2 separate regions of the Homo sapiens genome follow, and region 2 is linked to region 1. The links are contacts of gene promoters, found by promoter capture Hi-C in human tissues and cell types (Jung and others, 2019). All regions are on one chromosome and are shown on one strand. The core of a region is centred on a gene start or on the middle of the fragment in contact, and the rest is flanking DNA. Distances in the headings are between cores, read along the strand shown.

Region 1 (6,675 bases), core at 2,692-5,191:
ATATACATACATATGTATATATACACATATGTATATATATATGTATACACACATATGTATATATACATATATATACTGAGAAATATCCAGCAATGGAAGTTGTTACATACACACTTATTGAAAATCCTTTAGCTGTTAAAAATGGTAAATATAAATGCAATGTAGCAACATAAAAATCCTTATGTTATAATGCAAGATGATATAAAACACATATTTATATATATGCATAAAAATGTACACATATATATTCACAAATTCATACAACTGAAAATAATTCACATACCAGTTAAAGTTATATGCCATTTGATTCTGAAATAAATTTCCTTTAACCCTCTTACTCCACATTTTATAAAATGTGTCCAATATCTATACCAAGACTTTTTTTTTCAATTTCCTGGGCATATTTTTCTATGGTCACTTTTTTCACTTATGTTTTAAAATTATGAAAAACATCATACATACAAGAAAATTTATAATGTGTGTTTTCGGTTTAACATGTATCCATCAGGAATCAGAATTTTACTCAGTTGGTTTGATTAAAGAGATATTAGTGAAGACACTACTTAAAGGAGTATGACTAAGAGAACCATCCAGTTGAGTCATCCAGAGTCTAGCAACAGCAGGAAGACTGCGCTCTCTCTAGGCTACATAGCAAAGGAGAAAAGTGTTTCCAGAGCCCATGGAGCTGGAGCCATGGAGAAGGGACTGCTTGCCAAGAGCTGCAATTGTGGAGAAACACAACCACCACCAGATACTCAGCCCCAAACAGAGAAAGAACAGAGAAAATATACCCTGATGTCTTTTTCCTCCTGCCTCCCATCTCCCTGAATGCCTCCCGCTGTCCAAACTCAAATGGAAACCAGCTGAGGAGAGCCCAGGTGGTGCCGTCCAAAGAGGTCAGCTTTGGGGTATAGAACAGGGCAGGGAAGTGAGGAGAATGAATATGATGGAAGGCAAACAGAAAACCTAGACAGTCTAATTGTTTTGTCACCCAGAATTTATTCTTTTCCTTTGCTCAGATGAAGAGCAGCTCATCCCTTACATATGAGAATGACAGAGTCTGACAAGATTTCTCCTCGACCAAACTTTAGTCAGGCTCCTCTAAGCCATCTCCTTGATTAGATATTGACCTTGGGCTGCAGTGTTCATCCTTGCAGAATCAGTGTTGGCAAGAATCCTGCTAAGTCAGTTTAGAGAGGATCTTCCCACCCTGAATGTTTGACCACTCTCAATATCTGATCAAATTCCTTACCCCCACCAGCCCCCAGGTGATGTCTGCTTACCCTGGCCTACCTTTAGCAAGAATCCTGTTAGGTCAGTTTAGCAAGGATTTCCCCTACCCTTGCTGTCTCTTCTTAGTAATTTTCCATCCACGGACCCCACCCCCATCCACACAACCTGCTCCTCGGCTATAAATCCCCACTTATCCTTACTGTATTCAGAATTGAGCCCAGTTCTTTACCAAGGTCTCTTTCCCCCTATTTCAAAAGTTGCTGAATAAAAATCTATTTTTACTGCTACAGCTATTGTCCAGCTTTGATTTTCCTTAACAAGCCTCATCAGCTGCCATATTGCCTTGAGGGGATGTCAGTTCAGGCACATTCTCACCCAGAAACTAAATTGTAATATTTATCTCCACCACTACTCTTTATGCAGGGTAATAGGAAAAGAGAGTCAGGGAAGAAGTAATTAACATTTTAAATGGAGAGCTACTATAATTCCTGCCTCTAGAGCTTGTTGCAAGGCTAAAATTAATAATCATAGCTTCCTACTCATTTACTTATGTATGTTTCCCCTGCCCTATGCCAACACCTAGGTAGATCAGGATTTTTTTATCTGGTATGCTTCAACACTTTAATTTCTTCATGATCTGAAATTTCTGCATTACTTCAGTTATCTGATAATCATTATTATGGCACACGGCAGTATTAAGAAGTGCCCAGTGAATCTCCAGGTGTCATGCATAGTTCTTCTTGCCCTCAATATATAGATGTAACCCAATTTCCTTTTGGTATTTGGGATGAATCATACCATTCTGTCACTGTGAGGAATCAAAGTGACCAGAGGGCAGTTTCAGCTTTCGAATCAATGAATTGAAATTCAATTCAATTCAGTGACGGGGTCTTCTAGTGGCAGCATTCCTTCCTTTGGATCTAGGCTTCCAAACACAATAAACCCAAGGTTGTAGAAATGGTGTGCTGGAATACTATGCAGCCATAAAAAATGATGAGTTCATGTCCTTTGTAGGGACGTGGATGAAGCTGGAAACCATCATTCTCAGCAAACTATCGCAAGGACAAAAAACCAAACACCGCATGTTCTCACTCATAGGTGGGAATTGAACAATGAGAACACTTGGACACAGGAAGGGGGACATCACACACCGGGGCCTGTTGTGGGGTGGGGGGAGGGGGGAGGGATAGCATTAGGAGATACACCTAATGTAAATGACAACTTAATGGGTGCAACACACCAACACGGCACATGTATACATAGGTAACAAACCTGCACGTTGTGCACATGTACCCTAGAGCTTAAAGTGTAAAAACAAACAAAAAAAAGAAATGGTGTGCTGGATATTTTCTATTTCTCCCTCCAGGCATTGTGCCTAGTAGGCTGACCTCTACAGACTACACAGACCTAGCTCCACTGTCTTCTGGCTTCCTGGTGGATCCAGCCAGCGGAAGACCCCAGCTGGATATCAGAGCTGGGAGAACAGAGAGGTGGGTCTTCTCCACTCTGTCCCTGCTTTGGGCTGACGTCTCAGCACTGGCTACAACTATAGAATCTCACCTTACTTGGTGAAAAGTTGGCATTGCTTGCTTTCCTCTACTGAACGACACGGTTCCAGTTGGTTACTCTCTCGTACAGCCACAGCTACCGCTCTCGCTCTCGCCTGGTTTTAGTAACTGCTTCCTTCCCCCACCCCTCAGCCCTATAGTTACTAACAGCTCCCCGCTGTTACTGGTTACTACTGGTTACGGAAGGCGAACTATGTGCCCGACACTGTGCTAAATGCCCACATATATTATCTTTTAGTCCTCACAATCCAATAAATTAGATGGCTTTAGTCCTGTTGCAGAGGTGATAAATTCAGAGTGACAGTGACAGAGCTAGAAATTGAAGGTAGGTGTGTTTATGCTAGAGTCTGTGCACTCAAACACGATTCCTTACTTCTTGCATCAGTTGTTAACCTCCCTTCAAGAGTGTCAAACCTCCTGGTAACCCGCCCATTCCCTTAACTGGAAATGAGGGTGCTGTTGCAATTTTCTCATCCAGCCATTCCACAAATGGTATCTGGAATGTGGGACCCACAGTCCAGAATCCTGAGGGCTGCTGTTGAGAGCATCAAGACGCGCCCAGGAGGTCAGGGCGGTGTGCACTCACACGCTGAGCCTGGAGAAAGTTAGACGCCTTCTCCACCGCTGTGGTGGTTAGCAGGGACTTTCCTGAAGGCCAGAGACTGGTGACGTTCATGCTATTTTTCCAAGCCATTTGGTAGCAAAGAACAGAGTGCCAACAATTCAAGCATTCTCTCAGGCTGGGAGAGAGACGTGGCTTATTCAAGATAGAAATTGCTGGTGAGGTTGAGGCGAGACCGACATCTCTCTGAGCAGCAGGGGAGAAAGACGGCTCTGTTCAAAAAAGAATGGGTAATTTCAGTCAATTCTCTTCTTTCTCGTTTCTGTCTTATCTTTATGACTTTTTAATAGTGCCAATTTAACAGATGAGGGGACAGAGGCCTTTAATTGAGAATTCCACTCCGCTTCCTCTGCCTCATCTCAAAAATCTGGCAGCTGAGTCGCCGCGGCTTTGAATTTGCCTCTTTTGACCTTCCCCTCCCACCTCTGGTAACACTGAGCCTGGCCCGGAAGGACACACCCGGCTTCTGGCGGAAGTGCCGGCTCTTTAAAGAAGCTGAGGGCTGCGCGAATTGGCTGAGGTGCGTCATCTACTGTGTCTGGGCGCCAATCCCGACGCTGGGCGGAGCGAGGCCCGGTCCCTGCAGCGGGCGAAAGGAGCCCGGGCCTGGAGGTTTGCGTACCGGTCGCCTGGTCCCGGCACCAGCGCCGCCCAGTGAGTGAACACCGGCCGCAGGCGGGTGGGGAGAAGGGTCAGCCCGGCCATGTCAGTCAGCGCGATCTCCTGGGCTCCGGGCTTGCCAGGCAGCGCTGGGCGCCCGCTCCTCGTGAGCGCCGGCTCTTGGCTCTCGCACTGCCCCTGGTGCTGATAGGTATTGCCAACTTCGTTCCATTAGAGCGCGTTCTTGTCGCCTGGCGTGGACTCCGGATCTCTCCGTAGCTTTAAAATAGAGTTGAGAAAAACAGGCACAGTGCTCTCAACAGAAATCAGCACACTATTGCGGGGAATACCTAAATTACAGTAACTGGCCTCAGGGAGCAAGGGCGGTGTTAATTACAGAAAACCTCCGGAAGCTGTGGGCTCTGGGCTGGAATTTGCAAGGGGATGTGGCTTAATTTCAATGGGATGCAAATATTGAAAATGACTGTGGTGAGACGATCAGTCATACATTCAGGCAATGTGTCATCTGATCGGGAAATAAGTCAGCGTGGTAATCCCGATGACAGAATTCATGCAATTAATTTTTTATGTCCCCCCAAGTAAAATCAAATCTAGGTACTCACGGGTGACCGGAAGAAAGGTTGTCTGGAACTTGCAGGCACCACTTCTCCTCCCCAGAAATACACCTTCCCATAGTAATCTATAGCTCACCTGAGGCAGGGCTGAAGCATTAAAGACCCCTTCCAAGATCTCAGAAGGAATCAAAGGGAAAATGAAGACAGAGGGATTGAAATCAGCATTCTCTGCAAAACATCACTCTGAGACACAGTGATGTTTAAAATTGTATAAGTAGCAAGACATTTTTTTTTACCCCTGGTGAAAAGTGTTAGAATTTTTAAAAGACTTAACTTATACAAGTGAGTGAAATCAAAGTTATCCCTATTGCAAGGTCAATTTTGCTTATTTTCTGATACATATTTTGTGAGCAAGAGGAGATAGCTGAAAGTGTTCTGGACACCCTACGGAATATTCCCAGACTTTGGGAAATGACTTTGCCAGGAATGGGGAAGTTGGGAAAGGAAAGAATGTTGAAAATACTGAACTCCAGGGTGAAATTTACAAGGTGTGATGCATTTATTTATTCTCAGGTGTGGTTTCCCATAAGGAAGCTCTTCTTCCTGCTTGGCTTCCACCTTTAACCCTTCCACCTGGGAGCGTCCTCTAACACATTCAGACTACAAGTCCAGACCCAGGAGAGCAAGGCCCAGAAAGAGGTAAATCTAAATACTAACTTCCCAGACAGTGTTTCTTTCCCAGATGATTGACATGAGGACTCTCTCTTTTCAGGGGAGATCCTAACCCCTTACAAACAGGAGCACTTGAAAGCACACAGCTCTGTGATATACAGGGTATGTGGAGGAATAGTACTAGAGTACAGTTGTTTTCTTTATAAATGTTTGCAGCAGGTGTAAAAATTTAGTCATCCACTCCTATGTTCAGAAGAAAAATAAGTAATGGCAAGTGGCCTGAGCCACAGTTTTTCTTGTATCTCTCATGCTTTGTGCAAATATTTAGGGGAAGTAGACACCATGGAGACTATCAAGATGGATAATATCTCGCTCCTAACCTCAGGCAGGTTCTGGTCTGCTGTTAGAGATGAGTCGCATGGGACTGTTAGGGTTTGGAGAAAGGAAAGAACTGCCAAATCACCCTGCTGTCAGTGAGTGGCCTCTAACTCTGGTCACAGGGTGCTCGAGTGGCACAGTGGCAGAAGGGGAGGGAAATCTCACCACCTCAGGCCTTTTCAGCATTGTGCCTCTTCATCCTGGTAAGTGGTTTGGTATCCTGTGCTCAGCTTTGAAGCTGACTCTGGCACAGAGCCCTGAAACTCCAGGTGTATCCTTGATCAGAATACAAGGAAGTCACTGAAGTCTTGCTTGCAGCTCCCACTCACCTGGAACCCCATTAGCTGGGCTTCCCACAGAATACTTGGGAATCCTGGCTGTAATGAATTAAGACTGGCCATTCTTACCTGAGGTTCACAACCCTACTCAACAGCCTATTAAAGAGAAAAGGTATCAGCAACATTGTTGAGAAGGGTAGAGCAGTTGTAACTTTCCCCTGAGTTTTGCAGTATTCTGAAATGCAACCAACTAACTCAAGGTCTTCTGTACCCACCCAGTTGGATTAAGAATAAAAATTGGAGTTCTGTCCCTTGTAGAGTTGACAGCCCACTTAAAAACTTACATAAGATAGACACTACTGTGCATTCATCTAAAAAGTACATTTTCCAGGACATTCAAGTATCTGTATGTTTTTCCATTTTTGAGAACTTTAGTACATGCTATCTTGGAGAGAATGAGAGTGAAGCTGGAGGAGGATGGCTAAGGCAGTTAGCAGTGGGTGGATGGAAATAAGGGGCATGTAGGAGAGGGACAGGGATTGTGGTGGGATGACAGGAAGAATAACTGGTCTACTGACCTTGAGACAGCTCAATCTTCTTCTTTTTTTTTTTTTTTTTAGTATTTATTGATCATTCTTGGGTGTTTCTTAGAGAGGGGGATGTGGCAGGGTCATAGGATAATAGTGGAGAGAAGGTCAGCAGATAAACACAAGAACAAAGGTCTCTGGTTTTCCTAGGCAGAGGTCCCT
Region 2 (7,493 bases), core at 3,962-6,461, 1.9 Mb after region 1:
TCTTTTTTCTTTTTAAAACTGTATTTTCTTTGTGCGGCAAACAGTCTTAACATCCATTCAGCACTCTTCCCTCCCCCTCTTTCTCCCCCCCCCCACACACCCCTTGCACACATATTGAAACCTGGGGCCTGTTCGTTGGGCCCTCTTTGCTGTACTGGGAAAGATGTTTTTCTTTTTTAAAGTCTGTCTCCTCTCTCTTCTTTGGTGTGTGTGTGTGTGTGTGTGTGTGTGTGTGTGTGTGTGTGTGTGTGTGTGCTTGTGATTTAAACCGGATGCAGGGCATCTGTGATACTTGGGTTAGTAGTTATTGACAGTGCTTTATCCTTCATGTGGAGGTGGGAGGGGGAGTAGTGAGGTTCCGTTTCACTTTGATGATCCTCCTTCCCCGCAGTAGAGTGTTAACAATTTTCATTGTGATTATGAGACTTTGTGATGAACAGGGAAGGGACACAAGGAAGCTTTGTGAGAACTCAGTTCACAGTGTTATTTGTGACAGTTATGGTACTTTAAGAGTTTTTTTTTTTTTAATCTCCTCATTTTCCTTTGAGAGTTGAAATTCAAGTCAAGTTCATAAAGAATGTATGAAGGTTCTCAACTTGAAACGTGTGTATATTTCACTTTCTTTCTGGTTAAGATCTAGGCATGTGTGTACTTAACATATTCTTTTTATTTACTTTTTGATTTTCTTTGGACAGTGACTTGAACCTGCTCAGGAGAGAGAACTTTTTCCTTTTTAAGTATTTCTTTTAAAAATTATTTTTCTCTGTAGATTTGAATACTTATTAGTCCTTATATAGTAGGTTCTTGGTTAACGTTAACCCAGTTTTACAGATCCCCTAAATTTGTTCATTTTTTTCAGCTTAACTTTTAGTTAATAGATTTATCAGTAGAGTTTTGATAATGAATGTGTGCTAAAACAAATATAATGTACTATTGTAGTTGCACATATTGAAGTTTTAAATTTACAGTTTTAAAATGCTTATTCAAATAGTCTTCTTTCTAACAGCAAACATATATTGATTTAACTGACACAGCAGCTTGTGAATAATGTGACAGTACTAATTATTCTTGAGATTGTCAACGAGCAGGGTGGGTAATTATAATGCTATTAAGGCTAATATTTTGTAAAATAAGAGTTGGGATTTTAAAAAAACTTTTTCAATTCATTTCCTTGTGATTGCTATTTTAAATGAAGACGATATTTTGTTCTGAAAGAAGTCTTTCTCAGAGCACTCAGATTTGTTTATAATTATTCCTCCTCTCCCCAAACTGGGTTCCATGCAAATCTCTAATACTAACTTGTATTTTTTTTTCTGTTCAGATGAGTGTCAAATGCCTGAACACTTTTGGATGGTGAAGCTCCTGGGTCCTATAAACTCTCTCTGAAGTTAATAGGAGTTTTGCTGTCTTGGGACAGTTTCAGACCTTATGCCATTTACATAATAGGTTTTCAGTTAAGTAAATTATATACTATAATGTTATGGTTTAATATTTTATTTACAGTGTCTGAGAACTTTTTTTGAGGCATTTCACTCATGTATAGCTCAGGTTTTCTGTGATTTAGATTTTCATTCACAAGTTGATTTGAGAGCAGAACTTAAATTGAATTTCATTACTTTTCCATTTTTTGAAGCATATATGTGGGATAAAATTGCTATTAGAGCTGCTGTGGAATTGATTAAATAATCAGAAACACTGAGAAATGGTAAATTTAAAAATTAAACACAAGGATAGATACTTAGCATTTACTTTATTCTTTCTTAATATTTTTCCTAGAAGGGACTATGTTATGTATTGATACTCTCTTGTGTTTTCAGTTTTTATACTAATAGAAATTTGTAAAAGTGATCATGCTTTGAAACTAAAACTATTAAATAGAAGTCACTTGTAACTTGTTTTGAATAGTCAAATGTCTGTGATTCAATGTATGTCATAATGCCTAACTCAGTCGTTTTGGTGTGTTTTGCCTATGAATTGTATTAAATGGTGTAGGCATCATACATATACACATATATGGCAAACTAATGAATTTCTAGAAGTTTTGCATCGTTTCACAATGTTTTCATTAAAGGTTGTAGTGATGGTTAGTTTTTTTTGTATTATTCCTCCAGTACTCAAATAGTCTTGTACTCTGCTTTGGTACTCAAATAAAAGGTTATAGTTTATAAGCTTACTGTGCTTTAACCTGGAACAGTTTATTTTACCCTAAACAATTTATTATGGTTAATTTTTTTACCATTAACAATAGCAATTAAAAAATGAATGAATCTTAAAGGCAAGTTGGATTTTATGCGTCGTTTAAATGATAATGTATGTTACTTTTTGGTAACATTTTTCATTTCTTGAGAAAGTTGATATTGTGTTGGTATTCTCCAGCTGAAGAAATTAGCAGGCAGAATATAATGATTTTTGGTTTTCAGATTTTAAAGTCTGTGTGTGTGTGTGTGTTTGTGTTTAAATGGGTGGGCATAGCAGCAGATGTGTGGCAAAAGTTACACACACACACACACACACACACACACACACGCACACACACTTTTCCAGAACAGTAATAGGAATATTACTTTGTTCTTAGTATCCATAGTGAGAATGTGTTACAAGAAATGAGAATAGGGAAGAAGTAAACTTTAACATTTTTGAGAGGCTCCTGGTTATTTTGTTTTAATGCTGAACCTTTGGCTAAAAATCCTCTATTTGAGCTCAGTTACCTTAAAAACAGTTTTCATAACTGAGTAATTTGCCTTTAACTCTTTGGTATATATTCCCAGTGGCCATGACAAAGTATGTTTTAAATTCCTCTCTATTCACAGATACATAGTGTTCCCATATTTTGGAAATCCAAGATTAAGTGGATTTGACTAAATCTGGCTTGTTAGGGACAGATGGCTGCTTTAAACAGGTGTCACTTTCATTTTTTACTGCATTGTGTTGGGACTTCCAGTGGTTGACAAAAGGGCTGTCTAAAGCAGGTGGCATCCTTTGCTTTTGTTGTTAGTAAAATCTACTTTTAGAGTTTTCTAGGAAAAGTTTTTTTTTTTTAAAGTAAAAGTTTTGAACTACTCAAGATTCGTAATTTAACATAACTTTTATTTCTGAATATTCTATTTTTAAGTGGTAGAACCTGCAGATTCTTTCACAAAACACTTATCAATTCTTATAAATAATGGTAAATTCCCTTTGAATCCAGAAAAAGTACACAGGAACATTTTACACACCCAAGTCAAACCCCAAGGCCAATTTGAATAAAGTGAAATTTGGTTAACATGACAAGTTAACTTTTGTCATCCTTTACTGAAATAATTTTTTGACAGCATTTTTTATATGTTGGAAATAGGTGTTGTTTTTGTTGGTTAAGTATTTTCAAACTAAGACATTTCCTGACTTCATTTACTGCTATAAAGTTTATAGTGATCTTTTAAAATGATAATATTTTTAAGTATTAATGTTCAAAAATATGTACTGCAGTAAATAAAAAAACTATCAACCTATTGATTTCTAAGGTTCACTTTTACTCTACAATTCTGTCCTTTTCTGTGGGAATTTTATATTTCTTATAACAGATGCACCAGAGGGTGCTGTGCTGTTTGCAACATGAGATTATTATCACTAAGAATGTGAACTCACTAGAACTTTTATTTAAAGAAAAAAATTTTTAATTATATATGCATTGAAGCATATAATAGGCTTATTTTTATGGAGTTTAACATACTATCTTAATTGGCAGTTTTACATCAGAACCTAACTTCGTGTACTAATACATATTACCGCAACATATAACAATATAAAGATTGATATCTTTGGCACTGTCTGGCATTAGTCCTATAGGCATATATGTTGATTATCTTATGTAGATATTTTAATCTTTATTTCAAAACTTAGGTTACCCTGAGAATCATACTATTTGGCGATATGTGGCTTTATACTTCTTAAATTTCATATGATTAGCACATATCAATAATTGTCCATTCTTATAACACTTTTACATGGCATAGTGATATGCTTTTTATTGTATAATCTTTAAAAAAACCACTGGAAAAATAAATGGCAATAGTGGTTATCAGGCTAATTCATAATAAAATAGTATTGACATTATCTAGATAATTCTGGCTGGTTGTATTGGTTCACATTTATAATCCCAACACTTTGGGACTGAGGCAGAAGGATCACCTGAGGCTATGAGTTCAAGAGCAGCCTGGGCAACATAGCAAGATTTCATTTCTGTAAAAAAAAGTAAAAGAAAATTAGCCAGCCTTGCCGGTGCGTGCCTGTAGTTCAAGCTACTCAGGAGACTGAGGTGAGAGAATTTTTTAGCCCAGGAGTTTCAGGTTACAGTGGGCTATGATCATGCCACTGCACTTTAGCCTGGGTGACAGAGCAAGACCCTGTCTCAAAACACCAAAAACAGAAACGAATGCAATCCGTACTTCATGCTGTTGGAATAGGCTAGTTTGATTGTTTAATTTGGCTTATTATCTGAAAACTTTTAGGTTCCCAGCCCTACTGTGTGCCATATACTTTTAAACTGGGAGTGATCTTATATTGCTTTTTGTATTTTATTTGTTCAGTGAGAGATTTTTAGGAGAATACTGAATCCAATCTTGGGCTACTTCTTGTATCATCGACTCTTTTCACAGCAATATATACTCTAAAAGACATACTGAAACAGTGATACCTTCCTTAAGTAAGCTTAGAAAGATACAGTTACAGCATATAAACTTTTTAATCTTGATAATGGATTTATCTGTACTAGTCCATATTTTACTATAATTAGTTAATTGTGATATTTTTATAAAGTAAGCTTACAAGGCATAGTAGTTCATGTGTGTTAGACTGCCTCAAAGAATCCAAAACATTTATTAAAGTAACACTATGTTTAAATACTGGTCTTGCTAAAATAGGTTAGGCATTTTTCTTTAAAAATATAGTCCTACAGTTTACCAGTTAGTTTTTGCCACTAAGATTTTTCCTTTTTTGAAACAGGGTTTTGCTCTGTCACTCAGGCTGGAGTGCAGTGGCATAGTCATAGCTCACTGCAGCCTCAATCTCCTGGGCTCACGTGGTCCTCCTGCCACAGCCTCCTGAGTAGCTAGGACTACAGGCTGTTGCCATCATTTTAAAATTTAAAACATTTCAATTTTTTTTTTTTTTGTAGAGACAGGGTCTTGCTACATTGCCCAGGCTAGATTTTTGAAAGTATACTTTATAGCAAGTTGTATTGCTTCAAAATCTTTATATTTGTAGTTTTTATTTCGTATCAAATGCAGAGTGTTCTTAGTGAAAACAAATCAGTTAAAAATGGAAACGTGTTTAGAGTATCAATAAATAGGTATAAATAGGTTTTGTTCTTTAAATAGATGGATAGAATAAGTATACTGGTGAATAACAGGCTTTGGAGTCAGATTTCAGATAATCTCATTAGTTGTGTGACTTTGGACAAGTTATTACCTTCACTTAACCTCAGTTTTCTCATTTGAAAAATAGGATCAATCTTCCCTGCCTTATGGGGTTTTGTGAGGATTAAAGGAGATAATTTATGTAACGTACTTTGCTCAGTATTTGACACAATATGTGTTCAATACGCGTTGGCTTTATTTTTAGGGAAGGCTGAGAAAATACCTATTCTAATCTTTTTGCTACCTAAGAATCCTTTGACCATCCCTTTTTTAATGAGCCCAAAAAGTTTTGAAAGACTTTGCTTACCAATTTATACTCATTAAATAATAATTATTCTTTTTCCTCCACTTTAAAAAATAAGGCACAGACAAGCTGCCAATCACAGGCTTGGATTATCATTTGATAACCAGTCTTATCACACTGAATTAATAGAATGCTAGCCCAAAGTTATGTTTTAGTTTTACTCTGCAGCCTTATAATGGGCTCCTTTTACTAGGTTTGCATAACTCTCCTGGTCAAAGGATTTTAGATTAAGAACTAATGATGTAATATGTCATTATCTGTTATACTCCCATTGTCCAGTTCATTGTCCCACTTATATTTTTATTTTCACGTTATACATGAATTATTTGAAAACAGTCTGAGCCCTATTTATAAACTTTATACTGAATGTAGTCAGTAAAGTTTAATAATAATAAATAGTCTAGTCAGTTGTGTAAAGATGAGTTTATCAAAGAATTATTCTACATTTTTATAATGCGTTGCTTAGAATTGTTACTTTACTAAGGGTAGAAAAATGTGTGAGGTTACTACTTGTGTACCTACAGCAATAAATAATTTTGGGATGATTTGTCAATCCCAATCTTGAGTTGTAAAGTAACCTTGGAACATTATTTAGTGTAATATATAATATGAAATCATAGAGGAAATATATCACCTGTGGCTTCCTTTCATTAGATATTAAAGATGTTTAAGTAACATTTTCAAGTTGGCTGCTTAATTATTAAAGTTGCTATTCAGTAATTTCCTTTATTTCTATATTTTTCCTGAACATTTTCATCAGAATGAAATACTTTTCTCATTTTAGAGTGATCTATAAACAGTCCTAATCTTTCTCAAACTGGAAATTTGACTTATATATTTCAGTTGAGAATTTACCTGATACTATATGTCTTTTCTTTTTTGCCAAAGCATTGTATATTGTACAGATGTTTGTCTGTGTCACTCATTTCACCATTCTCCCCACTCCCGTTAAGTGTTTAGTTATATGACCCCCTTTGCGTTATTTTTGTAGATAATTAGCCCCAACATATCAATTAGACTGACTCTCAGCTTAGCCACCTCCTCTGCTTCCTTTCGCCAGTGAATTTGACACAGATTTAAAAGGAACTTTTGGGAAAAGTTTAGGAAATGTGATTTGGATGGTCAGGTTATGCAGTCATACATTACTTAATGATATGGATATGTTCTGAGAATTACGTAGTTAGGTGATTTCATCATTGTGTGAACATCATAGAGTGTACCCAACACACACCTAGATGGTATAGCCTGCTACACGCCTATGCTATATAGTATAGCATATTGTTCTCGTCTATAAACCTGCGTAGCATGTTATTGGACTGAATACTGTAGGCACTTGTAACTCAGAGATAAGTATTTGTGTATCTGAACATATCTAAACGTAGAAAAGGTAATGCATTGTGTCAAGATGTTTAGTTGGTTATGATGTCACTGGGCTATAGGAATTTTTGAGCTCCATTTTGTTATGGGATGTGGTTTGTTGTTGACAGAAATGTTATGTGGTGCGTGACTGTATGGTTATTCTTACCATTTCCGATAGTCTATTATTATCTTACAATTTCTACTCATCTGACTGTCCTCTTGGACAAATTTATAACCTTGTTCCACTAACTATGTAATTTGAGTGTGGTTTTGATTCAGAAGGCTCCCTTCTTAGTCCTGGCTATGTACTGGCCTCTGGCTAAGTACCTTAGGGTTAAATCTGTAGTCCATAAACACTGTGTTTGCACAATCACAGATGCCTGCTGTTGTTGACTTTTAATTCCTGGATTCTCCTTTCTCACTTTTATTAGAAGCAG

The links. The method cuts DNA at HindIII sites, captures the fragments that hold promoters and counts their contacts. A contact is called where the count stands out against the background at its distance.
Region 2: a contact is called between a fragment that was not itself captured here and the fragment with the promoter of PLGRKT in region 1, in 1 of the 25 tissues and cell types used here (lymphoblastoid cells).

The regions. Positions count from the first base shown.
Region 1 is chr9:5,435,191-5,441,865 of GRCh38, reverse strand. It overlaps PLGRKT (plasminogen receptor with a C-terminal lysine), which reads left to right and starts at 3,941. Exons shown (of 6, transcript NM_018465.4): 1 at 3,941-4,077; 2 at 5,172-5,297. RefSeq lists enhancers at 2,575-2,734, 4,295-4,384, 3,440-4,639. The HindIII fragment of the contact is 22,053 bases long and covers 1-6,675 here.
Region 2 is chr9:3,517,590-3,525,082 of GRCh38, reverse strand. All of the region lies in intron 1 of RFX3 (regulatory factor X3), which reads left to right. Among named protein-coding and RNA genes, the nearest start is that of RFX3, 4.7 kb to the left of the region's middle. The HindIII fragment of the contact is 3,565 bases long and covers 3,429-6,993 here.